Linked DNA regions of Homo sapiens: region 1 is linked to region 2. Evidence: promoter capture Hi-C in human tissues and cell types (Jung and others, 2019). All regions are on one chromosome and are shown on one strand. Each heading gives the region's core, a stretch centred on a gene start or on the middle of the fragment in contact. The rest is flanking DNA. Distances are from core to core; before and after follow the strand shown. Region 1 has its middle 38 kb from the start of AGR2. Region 2 holds the start of AGR3 (anterior gradient 3, protein disulphide isomerase family member).

What was found. Contacts are between HindIII fragments. The study calls those that stand out against the background at their distance.
Region 1: a contact is called between a fragment that was not itself captured here and the fragment with the promoter of AGR3 in region 2, in 1 of the 25 tissues and cell types used here (heart left ventricle).

Annotation. Positions count from the first base shown.
Region 1 is chr7:16,840,152-16,844,935 of GRCh38, forward strand. No RefSeq gene overlaps it. Among named protein-coding and RNA genes, the nearest start is that of AGR2, 38 kb to the left of the region's middle. The HindIII fragment of the contact is 3,304 bases long and covers 1-3,093 here.
Region 2 is chr7:16,879,288-16,884,004 of GRCh38, forward strand. AGR3 (anterior gradient 3, protein disulphide isomerase family member) reads right to left here and starts at 2,696. Exons shown (of 8, transcript NM_176813.5): 1 at 2,657-2,696. The HindIII fragment of the contact is 4,580 bases long and covers 2,241-4,717 here.

The DNA of each region.
Region 1 (4,784 bases), core at 192-2,691, 40 kb before region 2:
GACTAGCTGAGGCAGTATGGTGAAACCTCATCTCTACCAAACAAAAACAACAACAACAAAACAAAAAACAAAAATTAACAGGATGTGATGGCATGGGCCTGTAGTCCCAGCTACGCCGGAGGCGGAGGTGGGAGGATCTTTTGAGGCCCGGAGGGGGCGGTTGCAGTGATCTGTGATCCTGCCACTGCATTCCAGCCTGGGAGATAGAGTGAGACCCCATCTCAAAAGAAAAGAAAAGAAAAGAAAAGAAAGACGCAAATCTAAAGATGTCCCTGAGGGAGGCTCAGGTCACTACCTAAGGAGAAGTCAAAGAAGAATAAAGAAAAATGAAAAAGTCTGCTACGTTAAAAGTTCTGAAACATTTTCCTGTAAATGTCTATTTTTTTAAAATGGCAATATTAAGCTTCAGAAACATTGGTTTAACATCTATATTTATTCTTCCAGCCAATCGATGCAGACTACTTCAGATGTGTATATCTATTACTTTTTTGTCTTTATTGATTTCTGGAACTCCCTCTCAATATTTATTTCTTTTTGTTGAAAATTTGTGTTTTGTCACATTAAGAAATCTTAAGATATCTGCTATCCACCCGTTTCAAATTAATTAATTTTTTTTCTCCTGGTTCATAATCCTCACAAAAATACTCAAAGTTAACCTGGCCCTATTTCAAACTCTGGCCAGAAGTGTCTGGGTTATTTTTAACTTAAGTATCCTTTGGAAGAAAATTTTATAAACAAACCAAAAGTAGCCTTTGATAATAGAATGTGCATGAATTTGGGATGCAGGTAGAATTGGTTAAATTATTTAGACTGAGCTTTAGCTTTCTTATCTATAAATTGGAGGGAAATATACTAATTTCATAATGTTACAAGGATCAGATATTTAAAAAGTGCACATTCCACTAAAGCTCTTTGCACATGAGTGCACAATAAAGGACCACTATTTTTAAATCATAAGAATTTTACAATTTAGTCCTGAAAAAGAACAGAATGCTTACAAATAGAGTTGTTTTTGTTCATTTTCTAGGCACATGCTAGCTTGACTGAATTATTCTCCTTACCTAGTTTATGATAAGTCCTGGTTATCTATATATCTGAAAAAACCTTTATTTTGTTTGTTACCTTTGCACTGCCTAATTTGAGAAGTGGCTTTGAAAAATATGTGATAGTCCATTCTCTTTCAAAGTATAGAAGCCTAGCATGCTTTCAATAGTTCTGAATGAATTGTTGTGTTTAGGCAATGGTTATTTGACTCTTCAAAATTAAGTGCATCCTCAAATTGTTTTGTCATATGGCTGTGCCGTTAGAGGTAGTCATCTTTCAGGTTGACTTAAAAGTTTGTCTCTCACTGTCTCTCTTACTCTCCATCAGATTGTGTTTTCTCAATAGCTTGCAACAATATCCTTCATTTCACATGCTCCTCTTTCAATGTGACGTTGACACTCCTTCCATTTGAAATGTGGGTTTCTTGTGTCCTCCTTATAAATCTGGTGGTACTGTGTGACACTATGTGACTTCCAACACAAGGTCATAAAAGCAATAAGACTTCTGCCTGGCTCTCTTGGGATGTCTGCTCTTGGAACCCAGCTGCCATGCTGTGAGAACCGAAACTAGTCCACATTGGGAGACCACATGGAGAATACACAGGTATGTTTTCTGGCTGACAGACCAGCTGAGGTCCCTGCTGACAGCCAGCATCAACTGCCAGACATGTTAGTGAAGACTGCTGGAGATGATTCTAATCCTCAGCCGTTGAGTCACACCGTCCTCTCCTTGCCTTCAAGTCTTCCCAGCTGAGGCCTCTGACATCAGGAGCTGTGCTCTGTGTGAAATACTGACCCACAAAAATCAGTGAACATTAAAAAATCGCTCTTTTAAGATACAGAACTGTGTTTAGAGATGGTTTGTTACTTAGCTGTAGATCTGGAACACTTTCTTTTCCTTTTCTCTGTTCCTCCTTCCACGGGCATGTCAATGGAACTTAATTCTGCATTACTGAGATGCATATTTTGAATAGACGTGCAGTGATCAAAATGGCTTGCCTTTTCTCAGAGCATGCTATGTGCTAGGCACCATTCGTTGTGAACACTGTATATATATATTTAAATCTTCCAATAATACGACAAGAGTACTACTATTACCTGTATTATTTTCCCTACCTACAAATGAACAAACTGAGTCATGAAGAATTTGTATAACTTGTCAATGTCAAATATCTATTAAGCTTTGGCTCCAAAACCCTCACTTGAACATTGTAAGGTATAGAGGTAAGTGAAAATAATATTAAAATTCCAGGCAGGGAGAGTTCAGTTTACTTTTTAGGTGTATAGATTGAAAATGTTAAATTCCAAATATACTAAAAACTTTATTTATTTATTTATTTTGAGATAGGGTCTCACTCTGTCACCCAGGCTGGAGTGCAGTGGCACGATCTCAGGTCATTGCAACCTCCACCCGCCCCGGGCTCAAGTGAGCCTTCCACCTCAGCCTCCCAAGTAGCTGGGACTACAGGTATGTGGCACCATGCCCAGCTGTTTTTTAAAAGAAACATTCTGTAGACACGGGGTTCTGCCATGTTGCCCTGCCTGGTCTCCAACACCTTGGTTCAAGTGATCCACCCCTGTGGCCTCCCAAAGTGTTAGAGTTACAGTTGTATCCCTTTTTTTTAGTAGCTTAACAGTTTAGTAACTTAATCCACAGTTTCTGGGATCCAGGAAACTGTGAATTAGTAAATCTAAGCTTAGAAATCAAGATTAGCTTTCAGTTCTGTCTTTTACAATTATATTTCTTCTATCCTCAGATGCACATTTTTTTCAACATTTTGCCAACTCTGAAATGAGAATGCCTTTTACAATTGGTCATGTTTCATCATCGAATTTAAGTCATTTTTGGTGTTATATATAAAATAATGATCCTTCTTACAATAGATGCTGTCTTATTTTGGTAAAATGCATATATTATACATTTTTAACCTATCTGACATATACTATTGTTGCAACAATGGCATGCATAGATAAGGACAGGACAAATAATTCAAGAACCCTCCTAAGTCATTGCTGCAATGTTAAACTGAATAGTGAAAGAGTGTCAGAGATCTAGCAGGCTCTAAAATAAGGCCAGTGTTAGCATCCATTGTTACCTCGAAAGTATATGTATGAAAGCCCATTTCCCTCGGGTAATTGTCTTCACATACAGACACTTGGGAATCAATATTTAACAAAGTCACTGCTAGAATTAGGTTTCACAGGGATACAGCCCAAACCCAGCCCAATTTACTTGGGGAACTGCTGGTGTTGCCAATTAGTCTATTCTTCCGTACATAAAGGCAGCTCCTGCATCAAAGTTCTCTGGTACCTCATTTTATTCTGACATTTTTCTTGTAATATTTTTTCCTAAATTGATTATCTTATATTTAGCTTTTTCCAAAATATCAGAGTACCTTGCAAGCTTTCGTATCAACTTACAGTTTTTTTCATCATTGGTAGTGGTGAAAGTGCTAAACATTGCTGATTCTTGTTTTCATCCACCGTATCCAATTTTCAGAGTTCAGTCATGTTCCTACAGGTTTAACTTAGTGATTTTCATGTGTTTAGTGATTTTCATGTGCTGGATCGGGCCAGTTCAAGGTCCTGATATTCATTAAAAGAATGATCACATTGTAATAAGAGTTGGGATTCTTTTAGGTAGTGCTTATAAAAGGAAAGCATTGTAGTGACCAACCAGGTAGTAAATGGTTGATCTACTGGGGCCATTGTAGCCATAATCCCTGACTCAATAGCTCCACATCTTTTGGTTTACATTCTTTCTTTTAGTCAGGCTGTTGCTCTTACAACTGACTTTCTGGTCCGCTGAGGAAGAAAGGTTTCAAGAGATTGGTTCTATACTCCTCTGAGAATTTCCTTTTGTTTCGAAGGGAAAAACAGCAAGTAACTGTTTTTAGATTAAATGAAGCATCTATTTCAGTTCGTAATGTATAAATTGTAGTAATTAAAGGTAGAATGACTTTTTAAGTAATTATATTGCATGCGATACAATCCCAAAGAGATGTAGTGCTTTCTAAGACTACCTGGTTAGATGGTTGGTGTGTACAACTGCCAGGGTTTACTAAAGCCAAAGAGGCAGTGTTCTGAGTTTAGATGAGAGAACAAAAGGAACTAGTCGTTTGAAGAGCTGCCTGGGAAAAAGTGTTTCAGGCAGGAGCAGCAAGTGCAAATAATCTGAGGTAGGAAAGAGATTCTCAGCGTGATAGAACAAAGTAAGCAGCCGGTGTCCCTGACATCCCAAGTAAGCAAGAGAGAGATTGATACTCAACTGATGGAGAGAAGAGCAGGGAAACAGAAATGGATCATAAGCATTTGACCTGCTAGGAATCATTGATATTGTTAGTTGCCTCCTTAACCTCCGTTTTCCTCTATTTGATGTTCCCTACTTTTTGAGTTTTACCTTCCTTTATGCATTGGTCATGTACTTCAAGAGGAAGCTGACTGCTCTCCATTTCCATGATTGGGTCCTGGTTGGCTTGGGCCTATCAGCGTATTTCAACTCCATGGTCAAGACATTGTTTCCAGGGAAAACTAGAGGACCCTTTCTCCTTCCTTTTGGACATGAAAACAACTTGTTGTCCTGATTGCATTTTGTAGACATCTTATGAGCTGTCATTGGGAGAAATTCAACATTGTGGATGGTAGAAGAAAGTAGAAAACGGGACTTTGATGACAATTTTGAGCTCTGGATTTTTAAAATATAAGTTAATAAATGTCCTTCATTGTTTAAGCCAACTTGAT
Region 2 (4,717 bases), core at 1,446-3,945:
TATGTATAGAGAAGAATAGACTGTCATGATTACATTCTCTCCTGGTTAGCTAGAATTCAAACTGATTCTTAACTCAATGTGCATCTTTTATACTTTGCACGTTAAGATAAAAACTGAAGTCCAAAGTTGGGCCTGATCTGGTCATAAACCACTTGATAAATATATTACAGGAAGTCTTTAATACTTGTGAGATGTTTAGTTACAGCATTAGCATATAAAACTGATTTGAAAATGGTTGACTCATGCAGTTTTGAAACTTTACCTCAAAATATAAAATAAATATACAGACATCATTCACATTGATTTGAAGTTCCTTTAAGACGTCTTTCCTATTGGCTTACATTATTTAGTATTGAACTCATCACCAAAATAGTAAAATTTCCTTAGCCAAAATGGCTAGTGACTGATTCTTTAGTGATTCTGTTCAAACAAAGATGTTGCTATATTTTATTGTAGTAGGCATTGTGGAAAATGAAAAGATATATAAGACACAATGTTTTGGCATTGGTAAAACATTTGGCAATTTTAATCACCTAGTTATTGTAAAGTAGCAACCGCAGTCGTGGAGGAGAACAACAATTTGGTGGTAAAGAAGTTTACAGATTCTAGATTTCTCCAGACATTTCCTCATTCCTCCCATTATACTGTTTTCCCCTTCCCAGTGGTGTATCTATTGCAGCCCCTCTATGGACTGAAAATAGTTACCACTCCAGGTTAACCTTACTTTATTTCCCTCCCTAATCCCCAGTTGTCCCTCCCTCCTTCCCTTCCCCTTCCTTCCTTCCCCTTCCTTCTTTCCCCTTCCTTCCTTCCTTCCTTCTTTCCTTCCTTCCTTCCTTCCTCTTTCTCTCTCTCTTTCTTTCTTTTCTTTCTCTCTCCTTTCTTTCTTTTTTTTTTTTTTTTGCTCTTGTCACCCAGGCTGGAGTGCAGTGGGGCCATCTCCACTCACTGCAACCTCCGCCTCCCAGGTTCAAGCGATTCTCCTGCCTCAGCTTCCCAAGTACGTGGGACTACAGGTGTCCACCATCATGCCCGGCTAATTTTTGTATTTTTAGTAGAGATGGGGTTTCACCATGTTGGCCAGGCTGATCTCAAACTCCTGACCTCAAATGATCCAACTGCTTCGGCCTCCCAAAGTGCTGGGATTACAAGGGTGAGCTACATCGCCCGGACTCCTTTCCTCTCCCCTCCTTTCCCCTCCTTTCCCCTCCTTTCCCCTCCTCTTTCCCCTCCTCTCCCCTCCCCTCCCCTCCCCTCCTCTCCCCTCCTTTCCCCTCCTTTCCCCTCCTCTCCCCTCCTTTCCCCTCCTTTCCTGTCCTTTCTTTCCAGGCATATAAAAACCCTGTTAAACAATTATCACGGTGCCTGATAAGAATTTCAGTTTAAGTTCTCATAACTTATTAAACCATAAAACATTTCAGAATGTCATCTTGTACCTTAAGGCCTTGGTCATCTTGTACTTTAAAGACTGAAACAAATACAGGGTGGATTTTAGTACAGGACAGGGACAGTTGACTCTGGAACACAAAGCTCAACCCAGGGAAGGCAGCCTTAGTTAGACAGGTTGGGAGTTGCAGTGGAGGAACTAAAGCAACCACCTAGGACAGGATCTTAACCTGGATCCAGCAGGCTTCTAGAAGGCCTGTGGCTGAGCTACAGAAGGCTCAAAACCCCTGGAAATTGTGTGCAAAATTTTATCTGCCTCTGTTCCTTTTCCGTGGGAATAGGGTCCAAAACGTCATTAAAATTCTTCCAGGGATCTTGGATATAAAGAAGAGTTAAGAAAAGTCAATCTGGAAGGAATCTTTAGAAAGATTTTTCTATGTTAGCTACAGAGACAAGCAGGTGGAATCTGCATTTTAAAAAAGAAAAAGCATAACCTCATCATTTTTGCTATTTTAAAGCTGCGAAGCTTAGAGTTAAGCGGGAACCATTTTTTCTTTAAAATTTCAAGTCTTTATGTATTATTGTCAAATACTTTCTAATTAAAAAATAAAAATCTTGGTTTTCTGGTTTTACATTGATAAATTATAAAATAGATATTAAATATATTCTGTGACAAAGCAGTACAACTTGTACACTGTAGATTTTGAATAAATAACGCTTTCCTTGGTAAAATATAGTGTAAACTGCTGAGGGTCCTTTAGTATCAGTTGCAAGGTTAAGCTACTTGGGGGAACACAGATAAATGTGGCATGGTTACAGGCCTACAGCAGCTTAAAATGCATTTGGGAGGCACATAACCATATGTCAGCAATTAGATTGTATAAACATTGGTCAATTAGCATTTTATGACATTAGTATTTTATTTTTCAAAAGTAATTTAACGTAAGTAACTGATATTATAAGTTCCTATATTTTAAAATAAAACAAGACTTAAAAGAATATAAAGAAGAGCTATCATTACTTGTAGAATACTTTTCAAAGAGTCGTTTTTGTGGTTGACGTCAATTTATTCTAATACCATTAATATAAATAGAGATAAAACTATGAAACCAGCAAAGGAAATCCAGTTCAGTAAAAGAAGAAAAATAAAAATTCATTTCACTTTCCTACCCTTTACTGAAAGCTTCACTTTTAAATAGCAAAAGGTGATTATTTAAATATAGCAAAGCTTGACCACTGATTAAGTAATCTGGAAAATTTGCTTGCTTACCTGACTTGGCCAGTGCTCTTGTTGGAAATGTATTCTGGATGTTTCTGGTTAAAAATGGGTGTGGATTTATAGACACACACACACACACCTGACCTACAACCTCACCTGCATAGAAACAAGAGCATAGTTACCGGAAAACAAACTTAGAAAAATAGGCTGGTCTGAAAAACTCTGTACTTCTTTCCAGTTCTCATGCTTCTCACACTAAAAAAGCTCTATTCTTTTTCTCTAAATTAAGATTGAATGTCCTCATAAAATAAGGTCAAATACCATCTTTGTGCTTCTTTCTCTTTTACCTTTTATTTCCCAAGGTAGTTTAATGTTTGGCTGAAGTTCAGCACAAAAAAAAAAAAGAAAAGGAAGAAAGAAAACGGAATGAATTTAAGAACTGTGTGCATGCCATTGTTCAAATAGAAATTCCTAAGGGTTACTCTGTTTACAGGAATATAATTAACAGCTAAAGAGATTGGGTCCTTTTTTTTTTGAGAGAGAAGGAAATAAAAATTCTGTTTTAAAGTTGAACATTTTCATAATTTGATTATTCTTTACAATTTTTCTATAAAACCTTTACTGCACAAAAAATTAGAAAAACAGGCCATTAGATAAGTTTAAATTTATCTAATAGTTAGATACTGTTGAATTAATTGAGAGTAATTATTTAATTACTGTTAAAATAACGTAAGGCAGTGTGTCATCAAATTTGGCATACCTGTTTTTTGTACAGCCCAGGAAACAGGAACGGTTTTGACATTTTTAAACGGTTGGGGAAAAAAACCCAAAAGAATCATATTTTGTGACATGTGAAAGTTATATGAAATTCAATTTCAGTGTCCTTAAGTAGAGAGAGATGTGGCGGATGGCATGCAGCCATGTGCATTTGCTTACTAGTGTCTATGGCTACTTTTGCACTGCAACAGCAAAGTCCGGTACAGTCCAGGACAGTGGATACCAAAATCTGTGCACACTCAAAGTCCCATATCTGGCCCTGCGTAACCCACAGATATGAAAAGTTGGTCCTCCGCATATGCAGGTTTGGCATCCCGTGAACACAGTATTTTTGATCCACTTTTGGTTGTGGATACAGAACTTGCCCATATGAAGGAATATATTAAAAAAAAATCCTTCTCTAAGTGAACCCACACAATTCAAATCTATGTTGTTTAAGGGTCAACTGTGCTTGTGACAGGGACTGTATGATCTGCAAAACCTAAAATATTTACTATCTTTAGTAAATGTTTACAGAAAATGTTTGTTGAACCTTAATCCAGGGTATTGTTTATAAATTCCTTCCTTCCTTCTTTCCTTCCTTTCTTCCTTTGCTTCCTTTCTTCCTCTCTCCCTCCCTCCCTTCCTCTCTTCCTCCCTTCCTCTCTTCCTCCCTTCCTCTCTTCCTCCCTTCCTCTCTTCCTCCATCCCTCCATCCCTCCATCCCTCCCTTCTCCCACCCTTTTTTTGTTTCTTTTTTTTGTGGGGAAGGGTCTAATTGCTCTGAATACATTAACAAATATACTGTGCAAGAATGGGAGTGATGATTGTCTTGCTCCTGATGTTAAAGCGGGTGTGCTTCCAGTATTTTAACTTTAGATGTAGTGCTGGATTTGGCTGAGTTGACCATGTTAAGAAGGTAACCATTATTCTTAAACTACATCTCTTAAAAGCAGGACTGTTGGATTTTGTTCTATAAAGATGGGCATATGGATTTTCTCATTTGTTATAGAAAATTTTACTGTTTTCCTAATTAAACTTTCCATTGTCCTGAAAGAAACTTCATGTAGCTAGGTTGTATATTCTTTAACTGTACTGCTGATTTGTGTACTTGTCTAACTGTGCTTTCTTCCTTACATAGGATTCTCAAAGGGACCCTTCCCTGGAACATGCTATTCAAATGGAATCCTTCTTGCTGAAGGTTATGAAACTTGACATATAATTTTAATTTTAAATCCAGCCAGCCTTTGCAAAGCAAAGAAATGGCTGGGCAATAATCCTTATATTTCTCTGTTAGTGAAAAGTCTGGGAAAGCTTTCAACTTCTTGTTGACTGAGAGTGGTTACGGAAAAATCT